Regions from separate parts of the Homo sapiens genome. Here regions 2 and 3 are each linked to region 1. Evidence: promoter capture Hi-C in 16 types of primary human blood cells and fetal thymus (Javierre and others, 2016). All regions are on one chromosome and are shown on one strand. The core of a region is centred on a gene start or on the middle of the fragment in contact, and the rest is flanking DNA. Distances in the headings are between cores, read along the strand shown.

Region 1 (5,023 bases), core at 793-3,292:
AGAGAGACACACAGGGGCAGACAGAGACAGACAGAGATCAGAGGGTCACAGACAGAGGTCAGAGGGAGAGCGAGAGAGAAGGGATCAGAGAGAGAAAGGGACAGGGACAGGGAAAAGAGAGACAGAGACAGAAACCTGCCAGGGCTTCCTGTTCTGTGGTCCCAGCCTATGTCCCGTCCTGCCCAGAGTTATCTGGGGGCGCACGGGCCCAGGACAGAGTTGGGGGAGGGTCTCACTTGGGATGCTTCCAGTCTGGCAGGTGAGAGAAACAGAGACAAGGGGGAGAGAGACAGAGATGGGACCAGAGAGGCAGAGGAAAAGAGAGCCAGAGAGAAAGAGAGACAGACACACGGGGTGGGCTGTGGGGGAAAGAAGTAAGGAAGGAGAAGGAAAGAGTGTTAGAGACCCAGGAGAGACAGAGAGACACAGAGACATTCCTGCCTCGTCGCGGTCACCTGCGGGCACTATCCCTCACCCGCGCCGGCTCCGCGGTCTACACCCACCCACTCCTTGGATGATCTCACCCGGCCTCGTGGCTGTAAACACCACCTCTCCCCTGATGAGTCCCCGCTGTTTCTCGGCAGTCCTGACCTCGGCCTGCCCCTCCGTGCACCCTCCGCGGTCTACGGCACCCTCTCACCCCCCACCCCCCTTCCCGCACCTATGCGTCTCCACAAGATCCGTAGAGCGCAAGCCAGCAGACCAAGCCTCCACGCCATCCTTGGCCCCTCTGCTCCTGGCCCCCCACTTTCCATCCATCGGGCAGTAACTTGGCTCCACATGCAGAGGGGACCCCGTGTCCATTCACCTCTCTTCTCCCTTGACCCCGTCACCTCCCACCTGGGCTGTTGCCACTGCCCCCCGCCCCGCCCCCACCATCACTCTCCAAGCTGGAAGTTTTTAAAAAGTAAATAAGATTATGTCACTCCATCCTCGTGCTTAAAATCCATTGCACTTAAGTAAAACCCAAGCTCCTTAATCCTGGTACGTAAACTCCTGCAGGCCCGCCCGGTTCCCGGTCTGCGCTCCTACCCGCCCTGCCCTCCTACCCGCCCTGCCCTCCTCTGGCTGGAGCCAAGTTCTCCCCTGCACCCCGCAACCGCCCCTGCTGCGGCGACCCTCCTCCTCCTCTTCCCTGGGATCTCAGCTTAAATGTTCCCCTTCTCTGAGTCTCCCCGACCACCACCTTATATGCTGGTCCCTGCAGTTTTCCTTTATGGTCTGTGCCCCCGGGTAGGACGCGATCCCCAGTGACGAGGACTTTGCTGGTTCCTCCTGTGGCCCCAGCACCTGCCGCAGAGCTCGGAGTGTGGTAGGCACTCAGCTGCTTTTCACTGAGCGAAGACTTTTTAGTTCTCCCGCTCACCGAGAGCCTACAATGTGCCTGGCACTGTGTGCCTTTCCCTGAATTACCTCTTTGAATCCACTTGGGAAATGGGGCATAATGGTCACTCCAGTTTTACAGTTGGAAAAACAGGCTCACAGGGGTGCAGTCACTTGCCCAAGGTTCCAAAAATAGTTCGTGATGTAGGCTGGATACGAACCTGGGGAAATTTGCTGGAGAAGCACAGAAAGAGAGGGATGAAGGAGGAGGGGAGAGAGAGAGAGAGATTTAATTTAAAAAGAGAAAGAACATGAGAGAGAACAGGAGAGAATGAGAGGAAATGAAAGAAAACACGAGAAAAATAATGAGAGAGAGAATGAGAGAAAGAAAGAAGAAGAGAAAGAGAAAATGAGAGATACAGGCAAGAGAGAGGTATCTCATGAGAGAGAATAAGAACATGAAAAGAGAAAGAATGAGAGAGAGAGAGAGAAAGAAAAAGGAGAGTGGAGTCTAGGATCTGGGCAGGGGTCTCCTCCCTGGGTCCCTAGACCCTGCTGCCAGCCCCTTCTGGGCCCCCAACCACTGCCTGGTCAGAGTTGAGGCAGCCTGAGAGAGTTGAGCTGGAAGTTTGCAGCACCTGACCCCTGGAACACATCCCCTGGGGGCAGGCCAGCCCAGGCTGAGGATGCTTATAAGCCCCAAGGAGGCCCCTGCGGGAGGCAGCAGGCTGGAGCTCAGCCCAGCAGTGGAATCCAGGAGCCCAGAGGTGGCCGGGTAAGAGGCCTGGTGGTCCCCCACTAAAAGCCTGCAGTGTTCATGATCCAACTCTCCCTACAGCTCCATGTCGCTGGATTCTCAGCCTCTGTGCCTTCTGTCTCCACATCTCTCTAGACAGATCTCTCACTGTCTCTAGTTAGGAGTCACTGTCTCTAGTTAGGGGTCTCTCTGTCTCTCTGAATCTATATCTCCATGTCTAACTCTCAGACTGTCTCTGAGGATATCTCTCAAGCACTCTGTCTCTCCGGCTCTGATTCTCTGTGTGTCTTCCCTCCATGCTTGTTTGTGGGTGGCTAGACACCATCTCTCCCCATTCACAGATGGCTAGATGCTTTCTCTAAACTTTCCTTTCTACCTAGTTCTCTCTCTCTCTCTCTTTTCCCATCTCTCTCTCTCTTTTTCTCTCTCAGTCTCTAAATCTGTCTCTCTAGGTTCTGGGTCCATGGATGGGAGAGGGGGTAGATGGTCTAGGCTCTTGCCTACCTAATAACGTCCCAGAGGGAAGAAAGGGAGGGACAAAGAGAGGGATGGAGAGACTTGGGCTGAAGATCCCCAGACACGGCTAAGTCTCAGTCCTCATCCCCAGGTGCTGACGTGATGGCCACAGCAGGAAATCCCTGGGGCTGGTTCCTGGGGTACCTCATCCTTGGTGTCGCAGGTATCTGAGTATGCGTGTGTGTGTCTGTCCGTGCTTGGGGGCACAGTGTTTGTTAATGTTCAGGTGTGACTCAGTGTCCTCTTGCTTGTGACTGCAAAGCTGCCTGTGAGACGGTACCGTGTTATCCGTCCCCCATGGCTGTGCCCCTGCAACTCCTTGTATCGTGGTAAATTTGTGTGTGGCAGTGTGCCTGGGTGTGTGGTTGTACCTGTGAGACTCTGACAGTTTGTGCCTCTGAATATCTGGTGGAGTGACAACAGTGTAATGATGATATGGGGACAGGGGAAGCCGAGGGTGCAGGAGATTGTGCTTCCTGGGGCGTGATCCATTGCTGGGAATCTGTGCCTGCTTCCTGGGTCTTCAGTCCTGAGATCCCCCTCTCCCATCCCCAAGGAACTCACCTCACAGGACTATAAAACGGTGTTTTGGTGTGCATGGGCTTGTGGCTTGGTGTGACTGTGGGCAAGGCTGGGAGAGGATAGGAGTGACTCGGCGCAGGACCGACTCTTTGAGCATCAGTCTGCGCAGACAAGTGACCCGATCCTTGCTCCCAGCAACAACTCCACCCCCTGAGCTTTAATTCACCCCGAAGGACCCGATCCTACTGCTATGAGCCTAGACTCCTCTGTTGAACCCCTCCTGACCGTGGCTTTGCACCGCGATGGCACCAGTCTCACCTCCAGAGCTCACCCCAGAGCCCTGACTCCGCCCCAGAAGCCCTGGTCCCACCTTCTGAGACTGCCTCTAGCCATAACCCAGCTCTTGAAGCCTTGATGGCGCCCCTGCGCTGTAACCCCAACCCTAGGAGCACTGATCCCGCCTTCTCAGCCCACCCCCATGCCCTGACTCTCCTCCCAGGAGCCCTGACTACCCTGAATCCCTGACCAGGCTCCTGCACCGTGATCACCGCCCCTGGGAGCCCTAGGCCTATATCCTGGACCAGCCCCTGAAGCTCCGATCATGACCCCTGCACCATAACCCCACCCCCAGGAGCCCTGGGTCCGCCCCCTGGGCCCGCCCCCAGCCCTGACTCGGCCCCCCAAGAGTCCTGACTGCTCCTGAAGCCCTGACCACGCCCCTGCTCGGTAACCCCTCCCCCAAGAGCCCTGGGCCCGCCTCCTGAGCCCGTTCCCAGCCCTGACTCCGCCCCGAGGAGCCCTGACTGCTCCTGAACCTCTGACCACGCCCCTGCTCGGTAAGCCCACCCCCAGGAACCCTGGGCCCGCCTCCTGGTCCCGATCCCATCCCTGACTCCGCCCTCAGGATCGCTCGTCTCTGGTAGCTGCAGCCAAATCATAAACGGCGAGGACTGCAGCCCGCACTCGCAGCCCTGGCAGGCGGCACTGGTCATGGAAAACGAATTGTTCTGCTCGGGCGTCCTGGTGCATCCGCAGTGGGTGCTGTCAGCCGCACACTGTTTCCAGAAGTGAGTGCAGAGGTAGGGGGAGTGGGCAGGGCCTGGGTCCGGGGGCGGGGCCTAATATCAGGCTCATCTTGGGGTGCTCAGGGGGAAACAGCGGTGAAGGCTCTGGGAGGAGGACGGAATGAGCCTGGATCCGGGGAGCCCCAGAGGGAAGGGCTGGGAGGCGGGAATCTTGCTTCGGAAGGACTCAGAGAGTCCTGACTTGAAATCTCAGCCCAGTGCTGAGTCTCTAGTGAACTAAGGCAAGTTCTTGTCCCTGAATTTTTGTGAATGAGGATTTGAGACCATGGTTAAGTAGCTCTTAGGGTGTTTAGCGAAGAGGGTGGGGTTGGGGTTAGGAGATGGGGATGGGAATGGGGTTGAAGATGAGAATGGAGGTAAGGATGTAGTTGCCACAAAACTGACCTGCCCTCCGTGGCCCACAGCTCCTACACCATCGGGCTGGGCCTGCACAGTCTTGAGGCCGACCAAGAGCCAGGGAGCCAGATGGTGGAGGCCAGCCTCTCCGTACGGCACCCAGAGTACAACAGACCCTTGCTCGCTAACGACCTCATGCTCATCAAGTTGGACGAATCCGTGTCCGAGTCTGACACCATCCGGAGCATCAGCATTGCTTCGCAGTGCCCTACCGCGGGGAACTCTTGCCTCGTTTCTGGCTGGGGTCTGCTGGCGAACGGTGAGCTCACGGGTGTGTGTCTGCCCTCTTCAAGGAGGTCCTCTGCCCAGTCGCGGGGGCTGACCCAGAGCTCTGCGTCCCAGGCAGAATGCCTACCGTGCTGCAGTGCGTGAACGTGTCGGTGGTGTCTGAGGAGGTCTGCAGTAAGCTCTATGACCCGCTGTA
Region 2 (5,023 bases), core at 1,050-3,549, 350 kb before region 1:
CGTGATCACGCCACTGCACTGTAGCTTTGGGCTACAGAGTAAGACTTTATCTCAAAATAAATAAGTAAATAAATAAAATACATACATACATACATAGTAATTCATAGAGTATGGTATTGACACAAGGATAAATAAAAATACCAATGGGACAGGCTATATGGTTAGAAAAATACCTATACATATGTGATCACTTGGTTTAGGATAAATATGGCACTGCATAGAAGTTAAAGGACTCTCTTTTGAATAAATTGTGTCAGAATAACTGGACAGCCATACAGCAAAAGGAAATAAGACCCCTACCTCATGTCATACATAAAAATAACTTCTAGGGACATTGGGAAAGTCCTTAGACTTTTTTTCTAGAACAGTGCTGTGTGAAGAAATATAATGTGACCTATAAATGTGGACTACATGTATAATTTTAAATTTTCTAGCAGCCACATTAAAAAGGAAGAAATGGGTAAAATTAATTTTAATGATGTTTCATTTAACCTAGTGAAAGAAACCTAGGTTATTCACTAGGTTATTCATATTGAACCTAACCCAATATTTCAACATGCAATCAACACAAAATTGTTAAGATTTGGTACATTCTTTATACACTCTTCAAAATCTTGTATATATTTTACACTTACAGCACACTTCAATTCAGACTAGCCATAATATAAGGGCTCAATAGCCATATGTAGTTAGTAGCTACCACATTGGTCAGTGGAATTCTTTAATACAACATAGGAGAGTATCTTGGTAAGTTTTAGGTAAGGAAATATTTCTTTAAAAGGGCCAAAAAGCACTAGCTATGAGGAAATATGGATAAAATGGACTGTATCAGAATTAATTTCTGCATCAAAAGATACCATTAAGGAGGACAAATGCAAGTTGCAGGGCTGGAGAACATACTTGCAACACATACAACGTGCTTGCATCCAGAACATAGCAAGGATAAAGGGGGTAATGAATGGTGTAGTACATGAGTGGAGTGTTTGGGGTGTTGTTAATGTTCTATTTCTTGACCTCAGTGGTGGTTACACTGGTCTGCTCCCTTTGTGATAATTTGAGTTGTATACTTACTATCTGTATTAATACTTCTCTGTATAAAATTGTACTTTGATTTAAAAGCTTGTTTGAAAATAAAGACAGAGAAACAAACAGAAGGGATACAAAAGAGAATAGAACGGTTGGGACAAGTAGAAATCATGTACCTAGATGTTAGATTTAAACTCCAATACATCAGTGATTTAACTAAATATAAATGGCTTAAATTATCCAGTTATGAATCTAAGATCATCATATTGGAAAAAAGAAGCAAAGCCAAACTCCATGCTGTTTACAAAAGACACAACCAAAGCATAAGTGTAAAGGACAGTTAAAAAACCAAATGGGCCGGGAGCGGTGGCTCATGCCTGTAATCCCAGCACTTTGGGAGGCCGAGACGGGCGGATCACGAGGTCAGGAGATCCAGACCATCCTGGCTAACACGGTGAAACCCCGTCTCTACTAAAAATACAAAAAATTAGCTGGGTGTGGTGGCGGGCCCCTGTAATCCCAGCTACTCAGGAGGCCGAGGCAGGAGAATGGCATGAACCTGGGAGGCAGAGCTTGCAGTGAGCCGAGATCATGCCACTGCACTCCAGCCTGGGCGACAGAGCAAGACTCCGTCTCAAAAAAAGAAAAAAAGAAAAAACCAAAGAATGAAAACATACACCAAGCAAATACCAACCAGAAAGCCAGGTAATGTAGACATACCTACATTAACATCCCATAAAGCAGACTTTAAGCAAAAGGCATTACCAAAGATAGAATGGCATATCTCCTAATGATAAGCTGACATTAACAGGAATAAAGTATATATTTAAAATTTGTGTTTGCCTACTAACATAGTCCAAAAATATATAAAGCAAAAAATCTACAAAAATAAAAGGAGAAACAGACATCCACAATAGTAGTGTGACATTTTAATCACTGTTCTCTCAGAAACTGACAGAACAAACAGACTATTGGAATATATAAAGATTTCAACAACTTGATCAGCAAATTTGACCAAAAATATATAGAGAATACTGCAATCAATAACTGCAGAATACAATTTCTTTGTAAGCACACAGAGAACGTTTACAGAAATTGGCCACAGCTGGATCATAAGACAAATCTTAATAAAATTTCCATGAAAATATTTAAAATCTCATTAATAACCAGCAAAATGCCTGTTAAAACCATCAGATACCAGTACATATCCAAGACAATATATCAAGTCTTGGTGAGAATGTGGTACTCAACTTTCACACACTATTGGTGGAAATATAAATCAGGGCAACAAAGTTATTTATCAAAGCAGAAGATACACATACTCTATGACCCTCAATTCCACTCCCAGATGTATACTTTATAGAAATGTTTGTGCATATGTACGCCACAAAGGAATGCAAAAATGTTTACAGTGGTATTATTTAAAAATAGCTAAAAAGGTAAACAATCCAAATGCCAGTAAACAGAGAATTTTAAAAAATGAGATACTACACAGCAACAAAAACCTATGAGCTAATGCTAGATGCAACAACATGGACCATTCTTACAAATAAAATATTGAATGAACAAAGCCAGACACAAATAAGTAATAATGTATGAGCATTTCTTTAAAATTTGAAAAAAACCGGGCAAAATCAAGTGTTTAAGAACGCACACACAAGTAGTAAAAATCCTTTAAAAGTTGCCAAGAAATGTCCAGCATAAAAGGTAGGATATTAATTGCCTTTTTGGGAGGAAGAGGTCTGTTTCTCTGTTTATTTTATCATTTGTAGGGGGTATGAACAGGTCTTTTGAGATACTGGCTATAGTGAATTCCATAAGGCTGTACCCTATATAGGCATCCTTTTAATAGTACAGTTTCCCATTGCCCATCTGCCTGACCATATGGCCAGGCCATTGGCCACTGCCCATGAATTGGTAAAAACCCAAATGTGGAGGCAGTTCAGCCCACTGAAGTGACTTGTTTTTGCCTTCCTCAGTATGAGTGCCAGTCTTCCAAACAGGATGTTATTAATTCACTTTGGAATTGCCATCCATAAATCAAACCGCTCTTAGTTGGTCAATCAAGAGCTATTAATAGACATCATTCAAGTAATAATAGGATCTCGCAGCTCTTCAGTAGGGAAAAAGCCACCTGTTCATAAATATAACGAGGACCTCCTTGCATTTCCCTGGTAGCATGTTCCTGTATAAACAATTTCCATTTTATTACGAGACTCTTTTGGGCATGGCCTTCCTTACTACAGTGTTTTTCCAACATGACAAACACATCATGAGGATTTCAGGTGTCAGGATTATTATATCCTTCAATGATGGGGCAGACTCAAAGCCCAATAGGCAGCTAGTTGTCTCTCCATTGGAAATTTTCTGGCCCCAAATCCCAGCATTCACCACTGGGTGGTGCTCACTGGCCTTAGCTCCAGTCTGCCTAAATAAAGCAAACGTTAAGCTTCTAACATGTTTTGTCCACCAGATATCCTGTACTGTTTCAAATTAACAATTAGTGTGGGCTTGGGCAATCTTATTGGTTCCTATTTAGCATATTCAATCAATATTGGTTGAAGGGAAGATTTACATGCCTTCTGTTTCATAATAGTACGTAGGGGAACTCTTCCATAGTTGGACACAATATCTTTCCTCATAATACATTTAGGTAAATACATTCACATAACATATTTACATAGTCTGTCCAAACATTCCAATTTTCATCCAAAGTTTCGCCTGAATCTCATCCACTTTGTAATCCTATGTCTTCGCAATCTAACCATAGATGCTATTAGAATTTCACCAACCTTTTGGAATGCAGGTATAAGACTCCCACATGAGTCCCAGAAATATCTCTTATCCATCCCCTGACTATTTTACTACTAATATGCATATGACTTTGGGTCTTCAGTTAGGGGTCAGGCCAAGCAACCCAGGCCCTTTTGTCATTTATCTTGATTAGATCACATGTTCGTCCCCTCAGGAGATCTGAGGTCAGATTTCCCATTGTCATGTTTGCCTTCTGGCTTCTAAAATTCCTCCAAACTAGGGTAAATATAGCAGACTTGATGGGGGACCTTCAACACTGGAGGGCAAGTCTAGGTTCTCACTGCTCCACCTAATTTCTAAGAGTGCTCCACTGAGACCTTTGTTTAGACTCCCTCAATGTCCACTTAACTCATCTCATTTCTTAATAACTGTTTATAAAGATTTCCACCCTCTTGGAAATGTTCGTCTTTTCTCACTCTCTGGTGAACCACTCTAATTTTCTTTGCCATCTGTCATTTCAGCCTAACTTTTCCCTTTAGCCACAGCCCTGAGGCTAGCAGCTGTAGCTCAGGCTGGCCAGAGCCCAAGATTGGGCCAGCATCAGGATCCGCCTCAGCCACTTTCATTTTAACGATTACAGATAAAAATAGCCAAGGGACTGCCTATTTAGTTTGTTTCCTTATGCATCCAGTGGGTCAGCTCCTTGGGGGTTGGATCCATTGTATTGAAAAAGCAATGGTAACTTTTACCTCCTGTAACTGTTTGCAGAACAGCTGCATTTCTATACGCACAGGTGACCGCAGGACAGCCCAGGAATCAAAGGCTTATCATCTTGACTTCACATCCTTCCTCTTTTCAAACCATATGTTTCAGTGAGTCAGGGCTGTTCTAGTGAATCCCATTTCTGATACAACTGAAAAGTTAGGGAATGGTCCACAAGATCCCCTCATTTCTGACACCAACTGAAGATATCAAGGATCCCTGATTACCCTCATTTCTCAAATCATTTGCAAGGTTTTGGAACCCCAAAACTACCCTTAGGTTTGGTAATTCACTAGAAGTACTCACAGAATTCACTGAAAGCTGTTATACTCGTGATTACTGTTTACTACAACTAAAGGATAGAGATTAAAATCAGCCAAGGGAAGACATACAGGGCAGAGGCCAGAAGTTCCCCACACAAAGCTTCTAGTTATCCTCTCCCTGTGGAGTCATGGACAGCATAACTTAGCTTTCCTGGTGA
Region 3 (5,023 bases), core at 1,662-4,161, 300 kb before region 1:
TCCTGTGTGAGCAGAGAAGAGGAAGGGAGTGGAGGGGAAGGACTACAGGGCCGGACAGGAAGCTGGGGAGGAGCAGGAAACCTCAGCCCTGCATGGAAGAGGAACCTCAGACCCACACGTGCTCAGAGCTTGTCCCCTCCACACAGATTGACCCTCATGGGCCAGAGATGCCAGAGACTCGCCCAGAGATGGGAGGAGATGGAGCAGAATCTGAGTCTTGCCTTCCAGGAGCACCAGAGCCTGGATCAGTACCTTCGGGGCCATCTGAGACATGCGAACCCCATGTCTAAAGTCCTTCCACTCTGAGGTGCTTTTCTGTGCACAACTGTTTACACCAGGCAGCTGGTCACTCCAGGCCTGGCCCGAGTCACGGCCTCTTCTTGACCTGTGGGGTGGTTCGTCCTGCAGGATATAGGTTTCTGTAGGGTTCATGTAAGTGTCTGGGGCAGAAGAAATGAAGAAGGGTCCTAGATGTGGTGAAGGTGACAGTCATTCATTCATTCAATTCATTCATTCATTCATTCACCTAAGCTATACCGAGCATCTATGTGCCAATGAGGCTGGAGACAAGAAGAGATGCCACTGACCTGGTCCCTCCCCTTTAGATACTCCCCATCCATAGCCTCATGTTCACCACACACAAATACTGTTTGGCTTCACAGCTGTGGATGCTGGTGACTTTGCCATATGTCATGGTATCATATGAGGTATTTTTAAGAAGTATGACTATGGATTTTTTCCCCTGGCAGTTAGTACACTGATTTGCAATGTTTCAGCGACATCTCTAAAATAAGAAACATGTAGTATTTTCATGTAAAACGAAAGCTTCTGTGAACAAGTCCAGAAGAAATTTCTTTTCCATTAGTGTTGCCATTCCCTGCAGTGGGGACAGCAGCAATTTTTTTATGGGGCTTACCATAGAGATTAGCATTTTCTTTCATGTAAAAATACATTTCTGATAATTAAATGAGGCCCAAAGACATAATGTTTCCAGACAATATGAGTTGAATGTACAGACAAAATTAAAATTTAGCTTCAGCTCATATGGTTTTTTATTTTACTCTCTGTGGTACACACCTGGGAGATCCTCAATGCCTGAGACATATCAGTATTTGCAACCATATACAGGTAAAATCTCTATACACAGTAGTATCTATAAAAATGTTCATTCATCCTACCTACCATAGAGAGGTATTTCCATCCTCTTTTTAAATATAAGGAAGTGAGTCCTCAATAGATAAAACAATATCTTGCTGTAAGTTATTTTAAAAGATAGTATAGGCACATAATATAATATTCAGTATATTTACTTTTAACAGTAAAATATCATACCACATTCATGGAGTAGAAGGATACATAAGAAAATCTGTCTTACTGTGTTTCTTTAATGAACTTAACTAGGTATAATTTACATGAGGTGATGTGCACCCACTTGAAGTGTTCATTTTCATGAATTTTGACAGGTGCATACAGCCCTGTTGTGACTGGCACAATCAAGATATACAACATTTCCACTACACCAAGGGCTTTGCCTAACCTCTTTGCAGTTCATCATTCCCACTTCTTGTGCCAGGCAACCACTGAGATCCTCTCTCTCATAGTGTGTCGCTTTTGCCTATTTCAAAATTTCCTAGGAAGGAATGTACTCATCTGTGTCTGTATTCTGTCACTCAGCATATTTTTTGAAACTGAACCAAGTTGTTTGTGCCTATAGTTTTCACAGTGTGATATTGCTCAGTAGTATCCCATTGTATGAATATACTATAGTCCTATATTTATTCATCTATTGATAGGCATTTGAGATTTCCCCATTTTTCACTAATGGTACTCAGGTGTAAGTCTTTTTATAGACTTTTGTTGTTGTTGTGGCTGTTGAGATGGAGTTTTGCTCTGTTGCCAGGCTGGAGTGCAGTGGCGTGATTTATATATATGAAGTCTCGCTCTGTCACCCAGGCTGGAGTGCCATGGCACCATCTCAGCTCACTGCAGCTTCTGTCTCCGTGTTCAAGCAATTCTCCTGTCCTGTTGTCAATCACTGCACAGGACATCAACACCAGACAAGGACATTCTTTGAGCATAATGGATCAAGACAAGAATAAGACCACAGCACAGTCATGCCTTAACACAGACACAAACAAGAATGTTGTCCAAATTGGAAAATGGCTACATATTTCCCATCTAGGGTAACAGGAAAGACTGATGATTATTTACCAATTACAGCCACAGCCTTTCCTATAGACTAAATGTTGGTGTCACCCTAAAATTCATGTATTGATGTCCTAATTCTTAATGTGATGTGATGATATTTGGAGGTGGGGCCTTTAGGAGATAATGGGATTTAGGTGAGCTCATGGAAGTGGAATGCCCATGCTGGGATTATGGCACTTGTAAGAATGAGGAAGGGACCAGAGCTCTCTCTCTCCCATGTGAGGATATAGTGAGAAGGCAGTCATCTGTGACCCAGGAGCGGGGACCTCACTAAGAACCCAGTTGTACTGACATCTTTATTTTGGTCTTCCAGCCTCCAGAACTATGAGAAATAGATGTTTGTTTTTTGTTTGTTTGTTTGTTTTTTGAGACAGAGTCTTGTTCTGTCACCCAGGCTGGAGTGCAGTGGCACGATCTTGGCTCACTGCAAGCTCCGCCTCCTGGGTTCACACCATTCTCCTGCCTCAGCCTCCCGAGTAGCTGGGACTACAGGAGTCCGCCACCACGCCCGGCTAATTTTTTATATTTTTAATAGAGACGGGGTTTCACCGTGTTAGCCAGGATGGTCTCGATCTCCTGACCTTGTGATCCACCCACCTTGGCCTCCCAAAGTTAGATGTTTGTTTTTTAAGCTAGCCGGTCTGTGATATCTCTTATTCTAGCCCAAACTGACTAAGGTAGCTTTGGTCTAGTTCTTTCTCCTTTTTTATTAGATGTATGAAGATCCAGTGTTAGAATTATGCTGACTTCCTGACATCCAAAGAAGCAAACACTGCTTTTTAAAAAGTTTCCCCAAATCACCTAACACAAGTCCAAATCCTATAATAAGCCAGTTATAATTCTCTCTTACTGAAACACCTCATGGTTTTCGTGGTTCCTCACTGCAATGAGTAATAACCCAACTACATATCTATTCCTGGTGCCTGCTGATCTCTGGCCAGAAGACACTGACATGTTTATTGACTTGGTCAATGTTGACATTTGTTTCCTTGAAGCTGTTCCAGGATTTGGATTTTATTAATGACTTTTTGTTCTACTGATGGCAGCTAGGGTTAGTGAGATGAGGTGGGTTCCCATCCCCTGCTCGCTGCTGACCTGAGGACTATGTCCCACTGTGTTTGGAAAGCATCAGCCCTGCCCTGTTTCCTTACTGTCCTCCAGTCCAGCCAGAAGAACATAGGCTGGGCGCAGTGGCTCATGCCTGTAATCCCAGCATTTTGAAGGGCCAAGGCAAGTGGATCACCTGAGGTCAGGAGTTCGAGGCCAGCCTGGCCAACATGGTGAAACCCCATCTCTACTAAAAATACAAAAATTAGCCAGGTGTGATGGTGGGTGCCTGTAGTCCCAGCTACTCAGGAGGCTGAGGCAAGGAGGATCGCTTGAACCTGGGAGGTGAAGATCGCTGTGACCAAGATCATGCCACTGCACTCCAACTGGGTGACAGAGTAAGACTCCATCTCAAAAAAAAAAAAAAAAACATAATAAGAACAGAATAGATTGGAATGCATGTTTTCATCTTTTCTAATTACTCTCTCTGCTGGACGTTTGCCTAATGACCTCATTTTCTGATTGGAAGCAGGAATGTCAGCCCTCTCTTAGGAGTATTTCATTGCAATCAACATAATTACACAGGAAACTGGTGTCCCTCTAAAGTGGAGACGTTTGGACAAGTTGTTCCATAAGTCACTTTTCAAGGTAAGATGGAACAACCAAGTTGAAGGAGGGATGGTAGCAGCTGCAATGAGGTGAATAGTTTTATAGTCAGGAAAGGGTCTCTATCACTACACTGTGTTTATTTCCTCTTAAGCCAGAATCAAGGTATCTTCTGAGAGTAGGGTGGTGGGAGGCAGCAGAGAATAGAAGAACCCAGTTCCTGAGTTTATGCAAGATGCCCATGGGAGCCCAGAGACGTCCTATGGCGAGACTGGCATGTACTCACACAACTGAAACCCTCTCAAGATAAGGGTCATTCTTTGACCAGAGAAAACAGCATCCTTCATGCCCTTCCATATTAATCTCTGCCTCCACATACAGTCTGAGAAGCAACCAGTGTTCTGACATTTGTCACCATCAACTAGTTTTACATGTTTTACAACTTCCTATAAATGGATTCACACAGTAAGCACTTGCTTCACCCTGAGCATCTCTGCTGTTTCTTTAAAATTTCAGTAATATTTGAAAATCAGAAAAGAATTTCTTCCATTTGCTAATTTAAAGTATAACATTCAGGCTGGGCCCGGTGTCTCACGTCTGTAATCCCAGCATTTCGGGAGGCCAAGGCAGACGGATCGCCTGAGCTCAGGAGTTCAAGACCAGCCTGGGCAACATGGTGAAACCCCATCTCTACTAAAAATACAAAAAACTAGCTGGGCATAGTGGTGGGTGCCTGTAATCTCAGCTACTCAGGAGATGGAGGCATGAGAATTGCTTGAATCCAGGAGGCGGAGGTTGCAGTGAGCTGAGATCGCACCGTTCTACTCTAGCCTGGGTGACAGAGTGAAACTCTGTCTCAAAAAAAAGAAAAAGTATAAAATTCAGTGGCATTTATTGCATTCACAGTGCTGTGTAATCATCACCACCATCTAGTTTCTGAACATTTTTATCACCCTGAAAGGGAAACAGTCACTTTCTATTGCCTGCTTCCCAGAGCCCCTGGAAACTACTAACGTGTACCTATTTCCATGGATTTATCTATGCTGGATATTTAATGTGAATGGAATAATTTCAGTCTTTCATCATTGAGTGTAATGTTACCTGTGGGTTTTCTCTAAATGGCCTACTAAGCTTGATGAGTTTCCATGTCTGGCTTCTTTTA

Evidence for each region. The method cuts DNA at HindIII sites, captures the fragments that hold promoters and counts their contacts. A CHiCAGO score of 5 or more calls a contact.
Region 2: a contact is called between a fragment that was not itself captured here and the fragment with the promoter of KLK4 in region 1, in 1 of 17 cell types (non-activated CD4 T cells). The highest score is 5.0, in non-activated CD4 T cells.
Region 3: a contact is called between a fragment that was not itself captured here and the fragment with the promoter of KLK4 in region 1, in 1 of 17 cell types (non-activated CD4 T cells). The highest score is 5.1, in non-activated CD4 T cells.

What each region holds. Positions count from the first base shown.
Region 1 is chr19:50,908,414-50,913,436 of GRCh38, reverse strand. It overlaps KLK4 (kallikrein related peptidase 4), which reads left to right and starts at 2,042. Exons shown (of 6, transcript NM_004917.5): 1 at 2,042-2,098; 2 at 2,688-2,759; 3 at 4,023-4,185; 4 at 4,608-4,858; 5 at 4,942-5,023. The coding sequence starts at 2,699. The HindIII fragment of the contact is 22,926 bases long and covers 1-5,023 here.
Region 2 is chr19:51,257,946-51,262,968 of GRCh38, reverse strand. The region is part of intron 1 of SIGLECL1 (SIGLEC family like 1); the gene reads right to left. All of the region lies in intron 2 of LOC107985327 (a long non-coding RNA gene), which reads left to right. Among named protein-coding and RNA genes, the nearest start is that of SIGLECL1, 9.4 kb to the right of the region's middle. The HindIII fragment of the contact is 2,356 bases long and covers 1,122-3,477 here.
Region 3 is chr19:51,206,061-51,211,083 of GRCh38, reverse strand. MIR8074 (microRNA 8074) reads left to right here and starts at 4,075; the gene lies at 4,075-4,155. All of the region lies in intron 2 of LOC107985327 (a long non-coding RNA gene), which reads left to right. LOC124904751 (a long non-coding RNA gene) reads left to right here. Exons shown (of 3, transcript XR_007067311.1): 3 at 147-1,043. It also overlaps the pseudogene SIGLEC22P and a transcript of CD33 not described here. The HindIII fragment of the contact is 4,167 bases long and covers 828-4,994 here.